Regions from separate parts of the Homo sapiens genome. Here all the other regions are linked to region 5. The links are contacts of gene promoters, found by promoter capture Hi-C in blood cells and fetal thymus (Javierre and others, 2016). All regions are on one chromosome and are shown on one strand. The core of a region is centred on a gene start or on the middle of the fragment in contact, and the rest is flanking DNA. Distances in the headings are between cores, read along the strand shown. Region 1 overlaps ERC2 (ELKS/RAB6-interacting/CAST family member 2). Region 2 overlaps ERC2 (ELKS/RAB6-interacting/CAST family member 2). Region 3 overlaps ERC2 (ELKS/RAB6-interacting/CAST family member 2). Region 4 overlaps ERC2 (ELKS/RAB6-interacting/CAST family member 2). Region 5 holds the start of WNT5A (Wnt family member 5A). Region 6 overlaps ERC2 (ELKS/RAB6-interacting/CAST family member 2). Region 7 overlaps ERC2 (ELKS/RAB6-interacting/CAST family member 2).

Region 1 (3,007 bases), core at 273-2,772, 740 kb before region 5:
CCCTCACCCCTGCCACTCAAGCTGTAGCTTGAACTCCTGGTCATTTTTATCTTTCTTATTTCCTCTTTATTCTGGATTTGGACATTTTGGTTTTTTTGTGTGTGCCCTGAATAATGCTGCTATAGACATCCTTTAACGTAAACACTAAGGTCCTTGTGTAAATAATTCACTGGACAAATTCCTAGTAGTGGGATTGGTGGGACAATTAATTAAAATTTTACCACATTCCCTTATAAATGAGTTGTGCTGCTTAAGACATCCACCCACAGAGCATGAGAGGGCTGACTTTTCCACACTCTAGCCAGCCTTTGGCTGTGCTAAACTTGAGCATTCTTGCTGATCTGAATCTAAAAATATGATTATACATAACTCTGTGAGTATATGAATATATTACTTAGTGAAACTAATTGACAGATGGTGGACATACACAAACTTTAAAATCTATATGTCATTTTTTGTTTATATTCTAAGTTGCTATGGATATCTCTTTACATATTATTCACTTGAAGTTATGTAAGAATATATCATTGAAAGATGTGATTGAATTAACATGTAGAATTAGCAGCTTTTAACATGTGGAGATAATGTTTTGTAGAATGTATTTTAAAAATGTACTTAGTGGAGAGGAAAATACTGCAAGTAATTTTTAGCATAGAAATAGTCACTCAGAGAATAAGGATCCTAAGATAAAATGTTGGCCCCCTGCTTTATTACTAGGGCTGGGTCCTAATTAGTCACTACAGAGAGTGCCAAAGAGAGGTTCAGTAGTCAGGGTATAGGTGCCAAGAAGCAGGGATTTTAAAAAAGGGGAGAGTTATATACATTGCAGGGCTAAAGTGTCAGCAGAAATAGTGTGGTTATCCTGCTAAGTCAACTAGACTTAAAATGGTTGTCATTTTTTTTTTTTTTTTTTTTTTGCCATTTTTCTTTGGTAGCCTTTGAGTTTGTTGTCCTTTTATTAATTCATCCTCTCTGCATTTGACAAATGTGGCTTCCACTTTCTTGCGTATGTTGCCTTCAATTTATGTGCCATCTTGGTTTTGGGGAAAATATTTTTCCATCTAAGAGGCATAATTCAATCAGTGTGGTGTGAAATGGGGACAGTGGTTAACAGAGGTCCCACCACAATGCCAGCAAGCTTTGCTCTTCCAGCAAAGGAATCTCCTCCAGTGGGATCATTCATACTGACTTACTTGGATGCTCTATTCCTGGTTTTCAAAATGTTCATTTTAGAAACAAAGATTCCTTTGAAAAATGGAACATGAAGAGATGAGGACAGTCCAGATTCCACAGAGCTACATTTGTCTACAGACATGGTCAGCTGCCCTGTTTTTGGGAGGGAAGTGGTTAAATTCTTCTCTCTGAGCTTGGTCTGTGGTGGCACAGTCTGTGTTCATTCCTGTCATGAGAAGAGGCACCCAGCTGGGGATGGCTGCTCCCTGAGCAGATAGAGGGAGGAGACAAGTATGATGGTCTCAATACGAAGCCAACGAAGGGAACTGCTTGTTCCCAGGATGGAGGAAAGATACAGGCATTGCCTGAAGCTCTGCCAGGCTTGAGGGAGTCTGTCTAGAGGTCTCCTTTTTTCCATTTCACATGTCGTGGCCAGGAGGCTTTTGTATGGTTTTGTGACCCATAGAAACAAGATGACTATGATGTATTTTGCATCTAGCTATAGCGGTTGTATAGCATTTGTTTATCATTCATTCATCTATTCAATATTTGTTGAGCATTTACTATGGGGGAGGTGTGGAGTATATTCATTGCTCAAGATCGACATGGTGACTGTACTCTGACCTTCCATTCTAGGGGAGCCAAAAATTAGATAAGTACTTATGAGTAGATGGTTCAGAAAGGGGGAAGACAGAAAATTTTGGGCAGTGGTACGCAAGAGCACCCAAGCTTATTTTAAACAGTCAGACAAGGCCTCACCAAGCAAATGGTGTTGTAGTTGAGAATTGAGAGAAGAATAACAGTTGGCCAATGGATGATGGGGGAGCAGGAGGTGGTGGTGGTGGTGTGTCCATGGTGTTCCATGAAGGGGGACATTCTCTGCAGCAGGTCAGGGAAAAACAGAAATTGTTTGCATGGGAAACTAAGAGGAATGTAGTGTGGATGTGGCTTAGAGAACCTGGGTTCAAGCTGTATGTTGTGGACATTTCTCACAAACAGAAGATATAATCTATAACTTTAATCTGCTCTGTCCTTCCAACCAGTATATCTCATATTATCTGCCTTTCTCAGCACCAATAATTTTCACATGGATGTAGTACCCTCAGTAATTTTCAGTATCTGGAGTCCTATGTTGCTAGTAGCATTGCCTTTGATTACTAAAAACATTTTAATATACTCTTGACAGTACCTGACAGTAAAATGGTATCTCTTCTTACACTGATGAGTGAATTATCTGAGTCATCAATTACTTCTTGTATCCTCAGTTTTTATTTTTTAATCAGAAGATGACAGAGCTTCTCATTGTACTATTGTGTAGATTGTTTCAGGAATTTTGAAATGCTTTTTAGATTTTTTTTTTTGTTTTGAGACGGAGTCTTGCTCTGTCGCCCAGGCTGGAGTGCAGTGGCACGATCTCTGCTCACTCCGCCTCCTGGGTTCACACCATTCTCCTGCCTCAGCCTCCCAAGGAGCTGGGACTACAGGCGCCCACTACCACACTCTGCAAATTTTTTGTATTTTTAGTAGAGACGGGGTTTCACTGAGTTAGCCAGGATGGTCTCGATCTCCTGACCTCGTGATCCACCCGCCTCGGCCTCCCAAAGTGCTGGGATTACAGGCGTGAGCCACTGTGCCCGGCTGCTTTTTAGATTTTATGCAGAAATGACAGGATGTTTACATGGAGGTAGGTAGTACACCTTGGAATTGAGTGTGGCTTTGGGCAAGTTCATAACCTGCCCTCAGTGTTCTCTTCTATAGGAGGTTGCAAGATTGCTGTGCAGGACTCTGTGTAAAGCATCTATTATTATTCTACAGGGAATGCTGCATAAATAAA
Region 2 (2,883 bases), core at 205-2,704, 750 kb before region 5:
ATTCCTGAGTTACTTCACTTAGAAAAATGGCCTCCATCCAAGTTGCTGCAAAGGCCATTATTTTGTTCCGTTTTATGGCTGAGTAGTATTCCATGGTGTGCATATACCACATTTTCTTTATCCATTTGTTGGTTGATGGGCATTTAGGTTGGTTCCATATTTTTGCAATTGTGAATTGTTCAGCAAACTTTTTCTTAAACGGCCAGATGATAAATACTGCAGGCTTTGAGGGCCATTCTGTCTCTTGTAATTATTTAATGCTGCCATTGTAGCATGGAAACAGCAGCCATAGAAAATACATAAACAAGTGAGCATGAATTTGTTCAAATACAGCTTTATTTACAAAACTGGCAGCTGGCATTTAACCCATATGTCATCATTAGTTGACCCCTGCTCTAGCATGTAGGTGAGTGTGTATGTATGTGGATATGTGTTTGCATGTAAAACTAGTGTTAGAGTGTGTGCTTTTTTATGCCAACATTTGTAGGAACTCTGAGATGGAAGAGAAAGGTGGTCCAAAGTAGTAAGGGAAAGACTCGGTGAAGGGGGAACTATCTGTTTCTATGATCATATGTATAGCTCTATGATCTATGATCTTATCTCTATGATCATATATACAGAAATTTTCCTTATTCCAATTTTCTATCAAGAAAGTTGTTTGTTTGGGTTGATATTCTGTAGTAGATTTGCTGGGTTGAATGGTAGTTTTATTTTTAGTTCTTTGAGAAATCTCCGCACTGTTTTCCATAGAGCTGTTATAAATTTACATTCCTACCAACAGTGTATAAGGCGTACCTTTTCTCCACAGCCTCACTGACATCTGTTGTTTTTTGACTTTTTAATGATAGCTATTCTGACTGGTGTGAGATGATATCTTGTTGTGGTTTTAATTTGCATTTCTCTGATAATTAGTGATGTTGAGCATTTTTTTCATGTGTTTGTTAGCTGCTTGTGCGTCTTCTTTTGAGAAATGTCTGTTCAGGTCCTTTTCCCACTCTTTAATGGGGTTTTTGTTTTTTCTTGTTGAGTTGAGTTCTTTGTAGATTCTGGATATCAGTCCTTTTCATGTCTTTCACAGCAATATGGATGGAGCTGGATGCCATTATCCTAAGTGAAGTAACTCAGAAACAGAAAATCAAATATTGTGTGATCTCTTAATTGTAAGTGGGAGCTAAACAATGGGTATATGTACACATTCAGAGGGTAACAGTAGACACTAGGGACTCCAAAATGGGGGAGAGGAAAGGAGAGTGAGGACTGAAAAATTACCTATTGGATATAGAGTTCACAATTTGTGTGATGGGTACAATGGAAACCCAAACCTCAGCATCACACGATATATCCACGTAACCAACCTGCACATGTACCCCTGAATATATAAAAAAATTTTAAAAAGAAAGTTGTTTGTAAAGTCATTCGTTTTTCCATTTATTCTACAAGTATTTGCTAAGTGGTCGTTTTACACAAATGTTTATTCTAGCTTTTTCAAGTTTAATAGCTGGATATGTTTTCCATATTTAAATGACTCATTTTTAAGCATATTTTTGTGTCTCTGAAATTGGACTGCATCTCACAGTTGGTGGTGCTATTACAAGATTTTCTTTTCTCTGTGGGTATAAATTAAGATGCTTCTTATAATTGTTGGTGTCTTAAATTCAGAAGAAATATGGTAGATGATTTAGCACTGCCTTAAATATTTTTTTAAACAGGGTCATTTACTTTAGGTATTTTAGTTTTTACATTTACATTTACTCAGCAACTTACTAGACATGAAGATTCTGAGCACATTTTTAAACAAAAATTGAAAATGCTTTTTTAAAAAATTACTATCTTCAGTCCTGACTGAGATTAGTTATTTTACACATCTCAGTTAATGTTCTGTTAAATAAACTTCTCCCATCAAGCATGACTTTTCATGTACACTTTTGATGGTTTTGGCTTGTTTCACAGATTTCCTTCTTAAAGGTAAAATGTGGATTGAAATTTCAGAGATACAATTCTGTGGCCTGGTGAAGAAGCTGGTCATTGTTCTTCGTGTCCATTACTTATAACTTTCCCTTTGTTAGAAGCACAGGATTTAAGAACAGGTGTTAGAATATGTGTGTTTTCCCCTAATTTATCTCATTTTTATTTCATTGCTCTTGGATTTTCCAAAACTATGAAGCTCTTTATGCAGGACTGGCCTAATTAGGCAAACTCGGGAAGGTTTGTAAAAGGTTTAATGTTCCCCCTCTTTCCTGTCTGTATAAATCAATTAAAATGGACTATGAAGAAACTCACACTCAAATATTGTGTAACTCTAGATTTCATTGCTCTATGTTTGTTTTCTACATTGGAGGAGGAGGTTCTGCTTAACTGTACTTATGATTTATGGAAGCCAGAGATACATTTCAGCCAGTTCTGTGATATATGGGAATAGAACATACTACAGAAATATTATTTATGCCTCCGATCAGAAGGGGGAAAGCTGTTTCTTTTACTATACTTGTTTAAGCAGTGCGCGTAGTAAGCACATCTGTCTTTGTAATTAGTATAAAAATGAGAAAAATTAAAACTCAGATTAGTATTTCACAGTTGACATCTCTAGGTACTTCTAAGTTAATGCTCCCAAGTAATAATAGTAAATACTTCTCAGTGTTTCTAGTCTTTATCTGCTTTTAGCATGGCTTTCGTTTATTCTTTTTATCTTCTTTTTATTTTATTTTATTTTTTCAGACAGAGACTCACTCTGTCGCCCAGGCTGGAGTGCAGTGGTGGGATCTCGGCCCACTGCAACCTCTGCCACCTGGGTTCAAGCAATTCTCCTGCCTTAGCCTCCAGAGTAGCTGGGACAACAGGCGCATGCCACCATGCCTGGCTAATTTTTTGTGACAGGGTTTCACC
Region 3 (3,237 bases), core at 654-3,153, 950 kb before region 5:
ATAGTGCTGAAATCCTGAGTTTCGTAATTCGGGATTTTTTTTGTAGCCTCAAGAGGAGATGGTGGCTTTTGGGATATGTTGAGAGTAGAGTAGAAGCTGTGAAGGAAAGAGAGTCAAGAGTAAGGATGTGAGTATAAATTGTTTCATTTTGATTTTTTAAAAATTAACTAATTAATTAATTTTATAGAGATGAGTTCTCACTTTGTTGCCCAGGCTGGACTTGAACTCCTGGGCTGAAGCTTTCCTTCTGCCTTAGCCTCGCAAGCAGTGGGACTACAGGCACACGCCACTGTATCCAGCTGTTTCATTTTTATTTTATAATTCTTTTAAAATTTATCCCAGGGAAGGCTGGGGATGGTGGCTCACGCCGGTAATCCCAGAACTTTGGGAGGCCGAGGCGTGTGGATCACTTGAGGTTAGGAGTTTGAGACCAGCCTAGCCAACATGGTGAAATTCTGTCTCCACTAAATATACCAAAATTAGCCACTTGAACCCGGGAGGCGGAGGTTGCAGTGAGCCGAGATTATGCCACTGCACTCCAGTCTGGGAGACAGAGCAACAGTCTGTCTCAACAACAACAAAAAGAATTTATCCTAGGGAAGTAAGAGCTTTATCAATCTGAATATTGCTCAAACGGAACATTGAAAAGCTTTATCAATCAAAATATTATAAAGCTTTATCAATCACAATATTAATTATGATATTTCCATTTTAAAAATAATTACCTAAGTGTTTCAGTTCTTTTGCTGTGTAACAAAAATCTGTAAAACTTGGAGTGGGGCTTTAAATAATAATTTCTTACTTCCCACCTGATTCAGTGGGTTGATTGGTGGTCTTGTTACATATAGTGATGGCTGTTATTCATGCAGCTGATTAAAGACGGTGGCTGGGCTGGGCTGGAAGCTCCAACATGGCTTGTCTCACTGGATTGGTGTTTTGGTGCTGACTCTTGGCTGGGTGCTTTGGTTCTCCTTCACGTGGCCTCTCTCTGTATGTGGTATTTCATCTTCCAGGGCCGTTCTGTGTGGCTCCTAATTTTAGCAAGATAGCTTGGACTTCTTTGCATCATGGCAGCTGAGTTTTAAGAGAGCAAAACCAGAAACTGTCAAGCCTCTTTAGGGTTAGACTCAGAGCTGGAACAGTGTCTCCTCTACTGCATTTGTTGGTCTAAGCAGGTCACAAGGCCAGTCCAGATTCAAGGACAAAGGAAATAGAATCAATTTCTTGATGGAACTAATGGAACTACAGACAATTCTGTATAGGAAGGAGAGGACTTTTGATGGCCATCTTTGGAGGCTCATAGTATCTGTCAAAAATCTTGTGTTATAAAAATACTTTGTGGCATCTATGTTAAGTGGGAAATGGAGATGATGTTAAGATAAAACATGGAGAAAAAGGAAAATACAAGACTTATATATAGTCTTTATATAGTTTGATTTACATAGTCTTTATATTGTCTGGCTTTGTCTAAAACTGCACACACACACATACACACTTAAAAGGAATTGGAAGTAACATAATACATACTGGCTAGTTTTGAACTGCTGTCCTCAAGCAATCCTCCTGCCTCAGCCTCCTGAGTAGCTGGGATTACAGCAGGAGTCAACATGCCCTGCCAAGCCCATTCTTTTTTTTTTTTTTTTTTGAGACAGAGTCTTGCACTGTTGCCCAGGCTGGAGTTCAGTGGCGTGATCTTGGCTCACTGCAAGCTCCGCCTCCTGGGTCCATGCCATTCTCCTGCCTCAGCCTCCCGAGTAGCTGGGACTACATGCGCCCACCACCACGCCTGGCTAATTTTTTGTACTTTACTATTAGTAGAGATGGGGTTTCACCGTGTTAGCCAGGATGGTCTCGATCTCCTGACCTCGTGATCCACCCGCCTCGGCCTCCCAAAGTGCTGGGATTACAGGCGTGAGCCACCTCGCCCGGCCGCATTCAGTTTTATGTGTGTGTTCTACGAAACATTTCAGGAATAGGGAAGACTGGTATTATGCTAGCTTGTTAATAGAGGTTATCTATGAGTGACAGGATTGAGAGTGTTTTCATTTTCTGCTTTATGCATATTTGTATTTTCTAAATTTTCTATAATAATCTATTAGTTGGTTTAATAATTAAGAAAAACTAATAAGCCAATTAGAAAGTCTTGACAAATTTCAAAGATTGGAAAATATATATGTTACATTTTATGATCCCAATGCTATACAATTTGAACTAGAAAGTTTACCATAAAATTTCTATCCACTTTGACATTTAAATATATTATTCTCAATAATTCCTGGGATAGAAAAATTTCAAAATAAAAACAGCAAGGTATTTACAAATGCCAATAAGAGTTTTATACATAGAATTCTGGAATATGCAGCCATGTGTATAATCTTATATGCATTCATTAGGAAATGTGATTAAAGAGAAATGAACATTCAATGCAAAAGGGCAAAAAAAAACCATAAAGGAAGTAGAAATTTTATTAAAGATAAAGAGATATCAATGAAATGGAAAATAAGATGCAGTAAAATATATTAATAAAACCAAAAGCTATATCATTTAAAAAATTTTAAAGAAAAGTTATACAAAGCAATGCCAATAAGACTGGAAAATCTACACGGAATAGACTGTTTGTGAAGGGACGTTTTAATGATAATTGACACAAAATAGGTAGCAAACCCAAATAGACAAGTAAACATAGTGAAAAAGTGAAAAGATAATAAACAACTAGGCCCATTCTGTGTTTTTTGCTTTTTTAAAGAGACTGGGTCTCTCCCTCTGTCACCCAGGCTGGAGTGCAGTGGTGCAGTTATAGCTCACTGTAGCCTCGAACTCCTGGGCTCAAGTGATCCTCCTGCTTCACTCTCCCCAAGTAGCTGGGACTGCAGGCACATGACACCACACTGGGCTAATTTAAAAATTTTTTTTAGAGACAGAGTCTTGCTATATTGCCCAGACTGGTCTTGAACTTCTGTCCTCAAGCAATCCTCCTGCCTCAGCCTCCTCAGTAGCTAGCATTACAGCAGGAGTCAACATTCCCTGCCAAGCCCATTCAGTTTTATGTGTGTGTTCTACAAAATATTTCAGGAATAGGGAAGACTGGTATTATGCTAACTGTTCCAGAACATATGAAAAATGGAAAGCTTCTCAATCTATCTATGATACTAGCATACATCTGTTATTAAACCTAGAAAAGGAGAACCCAAGAAATCTATGGGCCAGTGGCAACATATATTACTTTTTAAATAAGGA
Region 4 (2,882 bases), core at 105-2,604, 780 kb before region 5:
AGCGATACGTTTTGTTAGATTGGGGGAGTAAACTTTACCAAATTGGCCTGCCCTTCTATTTTGGTCTTTCAATGTTTAATTGAAATTTAAAAGTTATTAGACTTGCTTTAGATTAAGTGGGAGTCAAGTCACTTATACCAGTTAGGCTTACTATAATATAACAAATTAAACAATTATAACACATTAAAAGTTGATTTATTTTGTAAGTTAGCAAATATAAATTCTGTATTATTCTGGAATACTGAGAATTTCTCAAGTTTTTACTTGCTGAAGGTGTGTAGGGGCTAGAACAAATATGTATTTTAGAATTTTAGAATTCTCTTATATTTATTTTGTTTTTTATATATGTGCTTTTTATTTATTTTTATTGTATAAATATAAGGTATACAACATGATGTTTTGATACACAATCATGTGTTGCTTAACGATGGGGATACGTTCTAAGAAATGCGTTTTAGGCAATTTGACATTGCGTGAACATTGTAGAGTATACTTACATAGACCTGGATAGTATAGCTTCCTACATACCTAGGCTATATGGTATAGCCAATTGCTCCTAGGCTACTAACTTGTACAGCATATTACTGGACTGAATATTGTAGGCAATTGTAATGCAATGGTGTATCTAAATATTTCTAAACATAGAAAACGTCCAGTAAAAATACAGTATTATAATCATATGGTACTAGTGTCATATATGTGGTCCGTCATTTATCGAGACATCATGATGCAGGAATTGACTGTACATTGTGAAGTGATTACAATATTCAAGCAAATGAACATATCCAACATGTCATGTAGTTACCTTTCTTGATTGTGTCTGTGTGGTAAGAGTACCTAAAATCTACTCTGTTAGCAAATTTCCATTATGCAATACTGGAATATATCTATAAAACTATAGTTAATAATATGTATTGTTATTAACTATAGTCCTCATGCTGAACATTAGATCTCTAGATTTATTCATCCTATGTAATTACAACTTTGTACTTGACCTACATCTGCCTGTTTTTTTGTTTTGTTTTGTTTTTGAGATGGAGTTCCGCTCTTTTGCCCAGGCTGGAGTGCAGTGGCAAGATCTCGGCTCACTGCAACCTACGCCTCCTGGGTTCAAGTGATTCTCCTGCCTCAGCCTCCCGAATAGCTGGGATTATAGGTGCCTGCCACCACACCCAGTTAATTTTTTTTTTTTTTGTATTTTTAGTACAGACGGGGTTTCACCATGTTGGCCAGCCTGGTCTCAAACTCCTAACCTCATGATCCACCCGCCTTGGCCTCCCAAAGTGCTGGGATTACAGGCGTGAGCCACTGCGCCCTGCCAACATCTCCCTGTTTTACCCACTGTCCCCGCTTCCTGCCATAACCATTCTTCTATCCTGTTTCTATTGTATTTGATTTTTAAAAAACATTCCACATGTAAGTGAGATCATGTAGCCTTTTTCTTTCTGTGTTTGGTTTATTTCAGTTAGCATAATGTCTTATAGCTTCACCCACGTTGACCCAAATAGCAGGATCTCCTTATTAAAAGCAAAATAATATTCCACTGTGTGTGTGTGTATACAGGTTGAGTATCCTAAATTCAAAAATCTGAAATTCGAAATGCTCCAATATCTGAAACTTTTAAAGTGCTGACATGATGTTCAAAGGAAAAACTAATTGGAGCATTTTGGATTTTGGATTTTTGTATTTGGGATGTTCAACTGTTAAGAATAATGCAAATATTCCAAAACCTGAAAAAAAAATCAGAAATCCAAAATGCTTCTGGTCCCAAGCATTTTGGATAAGGGATTCTCAACCTGTATGTGTTCCTTTATCCATTTATCTGTCAACAGACACTTTGGTTGTTCCCATATCTTGGCTATTGTGAATAATGCTGCAGTGAATGTGGGAGTGCAGATATCTTTATGAGGTGGTGACTTCATTTCCTTGGAGTATATATCTAGAAGAAGGATTGCTGTGTCATATGGTAGTTTTATTTAAAAGTCTGCATTCTGACCAACAGTATTTAAGGGTTCTCTTCTCTCCATATCCTTGCCAACATTTGTTACCTCTTGTTTGTTTGCTTATTTATTTATTTACACAGACAAGGTCTTGCTGTGTTGCCTAGGTTGGCCTCAAATTACTGGGCTCAAGTGGTCCTTATACCTCAGCCTCCCGAGTAGCTGGGACTAAAGGCATGTGCCACCTCACCTGGCTACCTCTTGTTTTTTGCTAATGCCATTCCAACAGGAGTGGGGAGATATCTCATTGTGGTTTTGATTTGTTATTTCCATCATGATTAGTGATGTTGAGCACCTTTCCATAAACCTGAAGACTATTTTTTGACTTATTTGGAGAAATGCCTATTTAGGTCCTTTGCTCATTTAAAAATCTGGTTATTTGCTGGGTGCGGTGGCTCACACCTGTAATCCCAGCACTTTGGGAGGCCGAGGCGGGTGGATCAAAAGGTCAGGAGATCGAGACCATCCTGGCTAACACGGTGAAACCCTGTCTCTACTAAAAATACAAAAAATTAGCTGGGCATGGTGGTGGGCGCCTGTAGTCCCAGCTACTCGGTAGGCTGAGGCAGGAGAATGGCATGAACTTGGGAGGCGGAGCTTGCAGTGAGCCGAGATTGTGCCACTGCACTCCAGCCTGGGAGACAGAGCAAGACTCCGTCTCAAAAAAAAAAAAAAAAATCTAGTTATTTGTGTTTTTGTTTTTGTATTTTTTCTGTTGAATTTTATTTTATTTTATTTTATTTTATTTTATTTTATTTTATTTTATTTTATTTTATTTTTTTGGTCGGATTCTCACTCTGTCACCCAGGCTGAAGTGCAGTGGCATGATCTCAACTCACTGCAACCTCCACCGCCCAGGTTCAAGTGATTCTCCTGCCTCAG
Region 5 (3,060 bases), core at 68-2,567:
AGAGTGTACCCCGCCTCCCGGCACCCCAGCCCGTAGTACGGCTTTAAAATCCTGCAGAGTTTGTCATAGGCCGGCCTCACCACGCATGCGCATAGCAAAGTTGAGTTTTTTCTTTCTTCCCCCCCCTTCCCTCTCTCTTTCCAGCCGCCCCTAGTTCTGAAACTTTAAAGAACTTTTTTCTTTCTTTCTTTCTTTCTTTTTTTTTTTTTCTTCCTTCTGAGAACACCAGGGGAAAGAGGAGTCTGGAGAGAGGGAGGGAGAGAGTAAGGCAGTTGGCCAGAAGGGCTGGGGGGTGGGAGGGGGGGACGCGTCCCCGCGGTCGGTCAGTCTGTTTGCGGGGCACAGGATCGCGTGGAAATCTGCTGCGAGCTCCACGGAGCCGCCTCCGCCGCCCAGAGCCGGGGTCCGTGCGGCAGCTGCCCAGCGAGCCCTTCCGCCGCCGCCGTTGTGCCCGGGACCGCCCGCCTCCCGCCGGCCCGCTCTCCCGCCCCTCGGACCCGGGCGCCAAACGAGGAGGTGGGCAGCTTCGCCGGCCATGGACCGCCGGAGCTGAGTCGCCGCCGCGGAGCTCCGAGCTCTCGCCCTTCCCCAGCCTCGCGCCCGCGGTGCACTCGCTGCTCTTCGCCCTTCGCCCTGGAAAAACGGGGAAAAGAGAGATCAACCCGAAGAGAGAAAGAACGGGATACGTGGTGGGGGGGGGGAGCCCGCGTCTCCCCTGGGTTAGTCGCACCCCTCCAGCTCACCGCACAGCAATAAGTTCCGGGGCGACTTTCACCTATTTTGCTCCCCGTTTTTGCCGAACCCTAAAATGAAAGGACACAATTTGGGGCTGACTCTTGCAGCTCAGATGGCGACTTGTGCGTTTTCAGCGGCATCTCCCGGAGAAAAAGCCATGCGCGCCTGATTGTTCTGTGGCCCCAAAGCTGCAGCGGGGGTGTGTGTGTTGGGGTGTGTGTCTGTGTGTGTACAGAGACGTCCACACTAACTCGCGGCTGCAGGATCAGCGTCTGGAAGCAGACGTTTCGGCTACAGACCCAGAGAGGAGGAGCTGGAGATCAGGAGGCGTGAGCCGCCAAGAGTTTGCAGAATCTGTGGTGTGAATGAACTGGGGGCACCTGGGCGCACAGATCGCCCCCCTTCCCCCGCCCCGGGCCACAGTTGAGTAGTGGTACATTTTTTTCACCCTCTTGTGAAGAATTTCTTTTTATTATTATTTGTCGTAAGGTCTTTTGCACAATCACGCCCACATTTGGGGTTGGAAAGCCCTAATTACCGCCGTCGCTGATGGACGTTGGAAACGGAGCGCCTCTCCGTGGAACAGTTGCCTGCGCGCCCTCGCCGGACCGGCGGCTCCCTAGTTGCGCCCCGACCAGGCCCTGCCCTTGCTGCCGGCTCGCGCGCGTCCGCGCCCCCTCCATTCCTGGGCGCATCCCAGCTCTGCCCCAACTCGGGAGTCCAGGCCCGGGCGCCAGTGCCCGCTTCAGCTCCGGTTCACTGCGCCCGCCGGACGCGCGCCGGAGGACTCCGCAGCCCTGCTCCTGACCGTCCCCCCAGGCTTAACCCGGTCGCTCCGCTCGGATTCCTCGGCTGCGCTCGCTCGGGTGGCGACTTCCTCCCCGCGCCCCCTCCCCCTCGCCATGAAGGTAGGTGTTCAGTGCGCTGCCACTTTTTTTCTTTACTTCCCCCCACCCCCTGTTGGAAGTTAACTGAGTTCCCTTCGCCTCTTCCTATCCCTCCATTTCCCCAACCGCCTGAAGAAGCTGGAACTCCAGCGTCGCTGGCAGGAACCCCTACCCCTTCGCCCTCCACGCCGGGCGCACTGCCTCAGTGTCCCAGGAGATCACTTCTGGTCGCACCACCCGTTCTGCAAACAATTTTGATTTTTGAGAAAAAGTGGGGAAGAGCGATAGTAGACAAACTGAGTGCGGTTCACTGACGACTTTCCTTTTGCTCTGAGAACATCGAGTGTAATTTACTATGTATATTTCAGTAACAGGATAATGATTCAATTCAACAAATATTTACCAAGCGCCCACTGCGCGGGCACCGGGACGGTGTGTGGCCGGGGCTCGGGATGGGGAAAGGGACTCCTTGGTTGAGAGAACCCGCAGAGGAACTAGGGGCCAACTACTCCAGAGCGGCGTACACCTTCCCCGACACCCCCCCGCACCGACGGAGGCCAGATTGTAGGCTTGCCTTGGCCGAGTAACTCGAGCGCTTCAGGCCCCTTTGCCTTTAAGAGTGCCTGGCGGGGGGCCAGCGCGCACCCCGGCGCGGGGAGCGGGGTCGCGTTATTAGCATTATTAGCCGCCACTGGGTGAGCTCAGGCACTTTGCAGCAGTGGTGGGGGCGGGGAGTTGTGGTGGTAGTGGCTGTAATCCCGTACTCCGGGACAGCGCTCCCCGGCCCCCTGAGCGGAGTCCGCCTTGTCCTTTAGAAAACACTTGGGCCTCCGCTTTGGGAGAGCAGGCGGGGGCCAGTTTGCGAACTCTTGTTTGTTTTAATTGTCAGTTGTATGTTAAAGCCGAATCACACACTCCGAGGGTCACTGAGAGTTCACTTTTACGAAAAGTTAACGTTTCTTCCTGCAACATAAGTTTTTATTTTCTAAACAATTTTTCTTATCTGTCCTCCAAGCTTCGATTCCTATTTCCATTTTTCTGGTCTTTCCCATTTTAAGTTTCTTAGAAAATAAGGTTAGAATTGAAATTAAGATGTTTCCTGGAAGCAAATAACCCCTCTTCCCCCCAAAAAGTTAAAAAAAACAACAACAAAAAACTTCAAGTCTGGAGACCCCACGGCCCTGTTTGACTTTCTAATCCCTGTCTGGTATCGAGGCCCCTTCTCCTCTCTCGCCTCTCTTTTCTCTCTTCTCTCTTTAAATGGGTAATTCGCTGTTTGGAAGTAACTTGGGCCTTGCGGTGAGGTCGCACCTCCTCAGCCCCTGCCCTCCCCCCAGCCACCTTCGCACATTCACTGCCGAACCAGCCAGATTTAGTTTCTAGACAGACTCTGCCAGGGGAGTTTCGAGGGGGCAATGCGGAGAGTGCGCAGCGAACC
Region 6 (2,900 bases), core at 123-2,622, 810 kb before region 5:
GAAGAGGAGCAACAATTACTGGCATGTTGTTACTTGCATGTAGACTAACTGTGGATTTTGGAATTTTTCTTGTGTTATCTCAAAACTGCAGTTGATAGAGGATCACTATAGTTGGAAAAAGCTGCTGTTTTATTTTGATGCCAAGGGGCAGCAAGGCTGTGATGCCAGAGAAATCTCCATCTGCAGCACCATTTCTCACTCCTTGTTGGGATCTTGTGGTCAGGGTGGAGTCATTCTTCTTCTGCAATTAGATTCTGCTCATTGATAGCACTTACTAGATGGTGCCTTATGTGGCTGCCTCCATTTAAATGAATCTAAACACAATTCATCTTGGGTTTTCTGAGATTGGCTGGTTCTCACAATGGTCTGGTGTGGATATAGATCATGTTTAGATCCCTAAACACCAGTTTGAAAGCACACAGAAGGGAGAACAGAAAGTGCAGACCAATACATTCAACTAGTTTCCCTGAGCATCAGACCAAAGTGAGTAGGTAGCCCTTATTTTAGCTCATCAAGAGGGGGAGAATTTGGAAAATACATCTGTATATAAAAGACTCATGTTAAACTTGAACTCAGCAAACAAGACTTGAAGGCCTGAAAGGATCATTCCCATGAGAAGGGTTGTACTGCCCTGTGAGAGCCATTTGTTAAATTCTCAGGAATCTCATGATCCTGGTGTTAAACCACACGTAGCCTGGAATTGGTCATATTTGGTGTATTTACACCATGGAAATTGGAAGATGCTACTCTTAGGGACTACCTTCCCCATTCCCTTGCCCATTCCTGAAAGCTGGTTTACTGGCACACCTCTGAATGAATGTTGTGAAATGTTTACCTCTAATACAGCAAGAGGATACACTGTGGAGTCATAATGTTACTTATTGGGAGAATTATGATTATGTGTGTATTAACCACTCACGGTTCCCCAAAAGTTTTCAAAATAGCATCTGTATGTGTCAGCTTATGTGTCAGGCATCATGAAGAATGCTTTACGTTGATTCACACTGAATCATCTCATTCATTCATTCATTTATTCATTCATCCATCCATTCATTCATTCATTAATCCATCCATTCATTCCTTCGTTGGATGAATACTTATTGAAGATCTGTTTTGGGATATAGCAATGATAATTAACAAAATGTACCTTCATGGTGCTTACATTCTATTGGGGGAAAATAGATGACAATTTTATGGTTTAAATAGAGGCGTGTCATGAAGAAGAGAGTGAAGCACTGGTGATGTGGGTGGGGCTAATTTTATGTTGGGTTGTCAGGGAAGGCCTCTTGGAGGGGGTGACAGTATGAACTGAGACCTGCATAACCAAAAGGACCAGCCATGTGAGGATCTCAGAAGACTGTTCCACTCAGATGGAAAGACCCATGGCCTAGGAGGTAGGTGCTGTTACTTTGCCCATCTTACCTGGGGGAACAGAGGGACAAACCCAATGTCACACTGCTAACAAATGGTGAAGCTAGTGTTTGAATCAGCCTGACTCTGGAGTCTCAGCTCTTAAACCATTTTACTATGTCCCTTTTCTTTTCTTTTTTTTGCGGGGGGCGGTGGGGGACGGGGTCTCACTCTGTCACCCAGGTTGGAGTACAGTGGCACAGTCTCGGCTTACTGCAACCTCTACCTCCCAGGTTCAAGTGATCCTCCCACCTCAGCCTCCTGAATAGTTGGGACTACAGGCATGTGCCACGATGCCTGGCTATTTTTTTTTTTTTTTTTTGTATTTTTGGTACAGACGGGGTTTCACCATGTTGCCCAGGCTAGGCTCCTGAGCTCAAGCGATCTGCCTGCCTCAGCCTTCCAAAGTGCTGGGATTACAGGTGTGAGCCACCGTGCCTGGCCTACATCCCATTTCTAGAAGAAATTTTCCCCAAATTGTGCTTGGCAGAACAGCCATTTTGTGGGCTGTTGATATGTGTTATGAGAGAAAAAGGGTTGCAGTGCCAAGTGAACTTGGGGAAATGAGGGATTCCACAGAGTTACAGTCTCAGTCTTTAATATGCAAATATGCATTAGTCATTTCCAAGAAGGGGACCAGAGAAGGCAGAGCTTCTCAAACTTACGTGACTTGCTTTTCTCTTGTTGCACTGGTGTTCTTTGTAAGACATTTTTGAAAAATGCTATGCTAGAAAATAAAAAGTGCTTCTAATTAATGACCTACCAAATACGTAATAATATACAAATGGTTGTTTCCCATTGCCAAATAACTGGGTTATTTCCTTCATTAGTTATTTTATAAGGCAAAGTTTATTGCAAGCTATTTCCATATTCTCTACTGAGTTTTAGAATGTACTTTGTCAGGGTATTTTTTTTTTTTTTTTAGTAGAAAGAATGTGTCTGACCACTTTTGTCATTATACCAGTAAGAATAACTTAGCTTGAATAAAGAAATTGCCTGACCTCTGTTAATATAGATGAATCTAAAACAAGATTTAAAATGTACTTGAGGTTTTAGGTTCAGTGTGTTCCTGATTTCATTTTCATTATGCACAGTTCGAGTAGGTTGGGGCTAGGCAGTGTGAAGCTGGGGAATGGAGTGCTAGTGGTTTTATGATTCATTCTTAGGCAGAGGTGGTGGACCTCACATAAACCCCATCTCCTGGCCTTGTTCAGCTTATTGTTTTAGGAGATTTGGAGTTGGCAGGAGTTGCATATGGGGTGGGTTGCTTTAGTGTCTTATTGTCTTTTGGTGGTCTGGAAAAGGCTGAGTGTGAAACCACTTCTTTGTCTGGCAGGAAACAACAACAAAAAGGTTATGATCTCAACTTACTTGGAAGACCAAAACCATTGCGCAGGAACTCCAACTGATGTGCTAATGTGAGCCAAAGGGTTGGCCGAAACTCAGCATTACTCACTAGCATTGTCTGATGTATTTGGATGCAGGTTGAT
Region 7 (3,125 bases), core at 362-2,861, 820 kb before region 5:
AAACCTTTAAAACATCATTGGCATTAAACATTTGCTAAGCAGTTAAATGAAAGAGCCGTCCTATAATAACTGTATATGGCTGTGACTGTTAATATTATAAGCGTTTCTATTTTAGCTATCGTTTCTATCATTACACGTTTGGGGTAGCTTCTCAACACATTTTTAAAATACCAGTATTTCTTAAACTGTAGTTTTTTTTGTAACCTGTATCAGGTTGAGAAGTGTTGATAACAGGGCATGCCATTATCCTTTAGTTGGTTGTGGATTACTGGCTAACAACAGGGAAAGAACACTGACCTTCAAAACAGAAATGGTTGGTATTCCTGAGAGTCCCTTGTAGAGTTATTTACAGGTCAGTTAATGTGAAATAAATTATATCCATCTTCGAATTGGTCTTAAAACATCTATTTCCCTTTTTCTCTTATTTAAAAAAATGCCAAAGCGCTTAGCATTTTGTTTCCCACTGTTGCATTTATTTGATAATCAAAGATTTATGTTCATTATGCCCGTTTCTTTTCCCTGCCCAAATCGGAGGAGGGAGGACAGAAATTTTAATTCCAGGCCTCTAGCCACCACCAGTGTCTCAAAATAATGAAAATAGCTAACATTTGTGGAGCATTCATTATGTGCCAAGCCCTGTGCTTCAGGCTTTAAGGGAACTTGTTTGCTCACTCAGTAAGCATCTCCTGTGGTGTTTGTATGAACCCTGTAGTGAGTTACAATTATTATTTCCTGTTTACGGATGAGTAGCCTGATGCTCAGAGTACTTAAGTAATTTGTTCAAGGCATCACAGGCTGTCATGGGTAGATCCAGGATTCAAAACTCAACTCTTCACCACTGTTCTCGGAAGCTGAGACAAGTTTAGTGATTTTTCCCCAGATCACGTAACTGGTTAGTTGCAAAGCTAGAATTAGAACTTAAGTCCTTAACTCTAAGCTCAGTGCAGTATTCCAATATTGTGCCACCTTAGAGTATTGGTCTGTAATGAAAACCAGAACTCCTCTTTGTGTACAAAAGCAACTGCCAAGAGGGCTTTCCCATGTATACTGTTCTTAGTGCTATGAATCTTGGCAAAACGTCACATATTATCAACCAAAGTGAGTTATGCAGTTATCAATGACAGTGTGTGGGTGAGGAACCCAGAGTCCCAGTGCTTTTAAAAATCACCTATCCATATTCTTTATTTAGTTATATGTGCTTCTCCTTGGGGTATTCTACCCCAAAAGAGAAAGCCTAGAGGCTAGACCATATGTCTAAATATTAATTTTTTATACCTCCCTCAGCAGGCCAACTCTTCCACCACACACTGGGGCCACATGTTTTCAGCTGGTCTGCTGTTTGTCTTTTCACACACATGACACAGCCTAAGGAAGATTTGAAGTCATGAAGAGTGTTGTACAGCCTGTACATAGGATTACAGAGAAAGGGATCAGAGAACCTGCCCTTCACATTAATTACAGACAAACTAGGAAGTGATTAATAAGAAAATAAAGTCACAGGAGAAGTAAAGCAGGCCAAGTTGTCTGCAAAGAGATTCTGTTTTCTTTGAAAGAGTTATGGTAAGTACTTGCTTGAGAAGGAGTATGGATTTATTAAAAAAAAAAACTTCACGACTTTTGGATATAAGCCAATTCATATTTTTATATAGCTTGGAGACGGTTTTCATAGCAATGAAACCCTAAGCTGCTTTACAGTGCAAAACTTTATCATTTTTGTTTTTTCCCCATAGTGTGGAAAAGAGCTTAAGGTCACACAGTTTTTCAAACCTGCCAGGAGCTCATATTTTCCATGTTTGGAGATAAGACACAGTAGATTCTAAACATCTGGCTATTCCCTATTTAAATAATTGTGTGTTCCATGCACATCATACATATATAATTATATTTTCATTCTAGTTACCTTTCTGTGTTTTAGACTTCTGAGATCTGGATTAGATTCTGACTCCAGTAGCTATTGGAAGTCACTCTTATAAACGTTGGCTAAGGCAAAGTGTATTTTTCCTTCTTTTTTATATAAACTCAAGTAGGGCTTAGTTTCTTGTATTTTCATTGTAACTTCTTTCAGAACTGAATGAATATAGGAGCTTATATGAGTTGTTCAAGATGAAATTCTGTAGTATTTTTAGAGCAGGGGAGACTGTAGAATTGGCTGGAGGAAACCTCAATTTTAGACACTGGCCTGTATCTGCTAATGATGTGATTGCAGTCAAATCCCCTAAGCCACCACAATTTATGCTCTTGTGAAGTGGACATAGTGTTGGCAGCTTTGGAGCAGTATTGTCAGATGAGTGAGTGGTGGATGTGAGGCATGTGAGTTTTGATGGAGAGGACAGGACAGAGTAATCCAAGGTTAAGGAAACTCTCTGCACCCCCAGCCCCTCAATCTAGCTATAGCTAAGCAAAGAGGAATGGAAACCTGTTCTCTCTGAAATTGTTCCCTTGTGCCGACGGTCTGGTGAGACAGTTTCCCTCTGGTCCTCTCACCTTTCTTCTATACTTCATTATGAAAATTAGAAACTGTCCTTGAGAGGGTCATTCTGTGTGTGTGTGTGTGTGTGTGTGTGTGTGTGTGCAAGTGTGTGTATAGTGAATACATGATTATATGATACATGACAATAGAACCCTTCCTTTCCACTACTCCCCCAACAGAACACGTATTAACATCTGCAGAATGCTGTTTCAGGGAACGTATTTGGGGAAACACTATTGAAACACAGTCTGGTAAAAGCCATGAGGATGCTTAATGTTTCAGTGGCCTGATTGGTTAAAGAAGTACACCAGGTTAATGGTCTTGGCATTTTGGCTCCAATGTCACCAGTATTTGAAGTTGAGGACTCGCTTTTCTTGAGGGCTTGTCTAGAGGAACACACAGTGTCTCACTGAAGCCTTTGAATAACATTGTGAGGTCTACACTGTTATCCCCACTTTACAGATGACCAAACTATGGCTTAGGGGAGATTCAGTAACTGAGCTCTGGTAATTGAGAGACTCTCAGCCAATATTGCTCAAAACCCATACTTTCCTCCCTACACTGTAATTGTGCACTGCATGGAAAAGATAAATTGAGATAAGACGCAAGGATTCAGGTTGCTTCTTTACTTTGGAAAGGCAAAAAATATATACAT

What was found. Contacts are between HindIII fragments. The CHiCAGO score rates a contact against its expected background, and 5 or more counts as called.
Region 1: a contact is called between a fragment that was not itself captured here and the fragment with the promoter of WNT5A in region 5, in 1 of 17 cell types (monocytes). The highest score is 5.6, in monocytes.
Region 2: a contact is called between a fragment that was not itself captured here and the fragment with the promoter of WNT5A in region 5, in 5 of 17 cell types (monocytes, M0 macrophages, M2 macrophages and 2 more). The highest score is 9.7, in monocytes.
Region 3: a contact is called between a fragment that was not itself captured here and the fragment with the promoter of WNT5A in region 5, in 1 of 17 cell types (monocytes). The highest score is 6.0, in monocytes.
Region 4: a fragment that was not itself captured here is called in contact with the fragment with the promoter of WNT5A in region 5 in 3 of 17 cell types (M0 macrophages, endothelial precursors and monocytes); the score reaches 8.6 in M0 macrophages.
Region 6: a fragment that was not itself captured here is called in contact with the fragment with the promoter of WNT5A in region 5 in 1 of 17 cell types (monocytes); the score reaches 5.1 in monocytes.
Region 7: a contact is called between a fragment that was not itself captured here and the fragment with the promoter of WNT5A in region 5, in 1 of 17 cell types (monocytes). The highest score is 6.0, in monocytes.

Annotation. Positions count from the first base shown.
Region 1 is chr3:56,221,429-56,224,435 of GRCh38, reverse strand. All of the region lies in intron 3 of ERC2 (ELKS/RAB6-interacting/CAST family member 2), which reads left to right. Among named protein-coding and RNA genes, the nearest start is that of ERC2, 250 kb to the left of the region's middle. The HindIII fragment of the contact is 764 bases long and covers 1,141-1,904 here.
Region 2 is chr3:56,239,335-56,242,217 of GRCh38, reverse strand. The region is part of intron 3 of ERC2 (ELKS/RAB6-interacting/CAST family member 2); the gene reads left to right. Among named protein-coding and RNA genes, the nearest start is that of ERC2, 230 kb to the left of the region's middle. The HindIII fragment of the contact is 3,700 bases long and covers 1-2,883 here.
Region 3 is chr3:56,438,956-56,442,192 of GRCh38, reverse strand. The region is part of intron 1 of ERC2 (ELKS/RAB6-interacting/CAST family member 2); the gene reads left to right. It overlaps LOC105377099 (a long non-coding RNA gene), which reads right to left. Exons shown (of 3, transcript XR_940862.3): 3 at 816-1,074. Among named protein-coding and RNA genes, the nearest start is that of ERC2, 28 kb to the left of the region's middle. The HindIII fragment of the contact is 2,454 bases long and covers 677-3,130 here.
Region 4 is chr3:56,265,928-56,268,809 of GRCh38, reverse strand. The region is part of intron 3 of ERC2 (ELKS/RAB6-interacting/CAST family member 2); the gene reads left to right. Among named protein-coding and RNA genes, the nearest start is that of ERC2, 200 kb to the left of the region's middle. The HindIII fragment of the contact is 3,668 bases long and covers 1-2,882 here.
Region 5 is chr3:55,485,563-55,488,622 of GRCh38, reverse strand. WNT5A (Wnt family member 5A) reads left to right here and starts at 1,317. Exons shown (of 5, transcript NM_003392.7): 1 at 1,317-1,643. The coding sequence starts at 1,638. It overlaps WNT5A-AS1 (WNT5A antisense RNA 1), which reads right to left and starts at 1,005. Exons shown (of 2, transcript NR_046656.1): 1 at 744-1,005; 2 at 315-633. The HindIII fragment of the contact is 5,010 bases long and covers 1-2,639 here.
Region 6 is chr3:56,291,256-56,294,155 of GRCh38, reverse strand. The region is part of intron 3 of ERC2 (ELKS/RAB6-interacting/CAST family member 2); the gene reads left to right. Among named protein-coding and RNA genes, the nearest start is that of ERC2, 180 kb to the left of the region's middle. The HindIII fragment of the contact is 4,131 bases long and covers 1-2,900 here.
Region 7 is chr3:56,307,276-56,310,400 of GRCh38, reverse strand. All of the region lies in intron 2 of ERC2 (ELKS/RAB6-interacting/CAST family member 2), which reads left to right. Among named protein-coding and RNA genes, the nearest start is that of ERC2, 160 kb to the left of the region's middle. The HindIII fragment of the contact is 9,723 bases long and covers 1-3,125 here.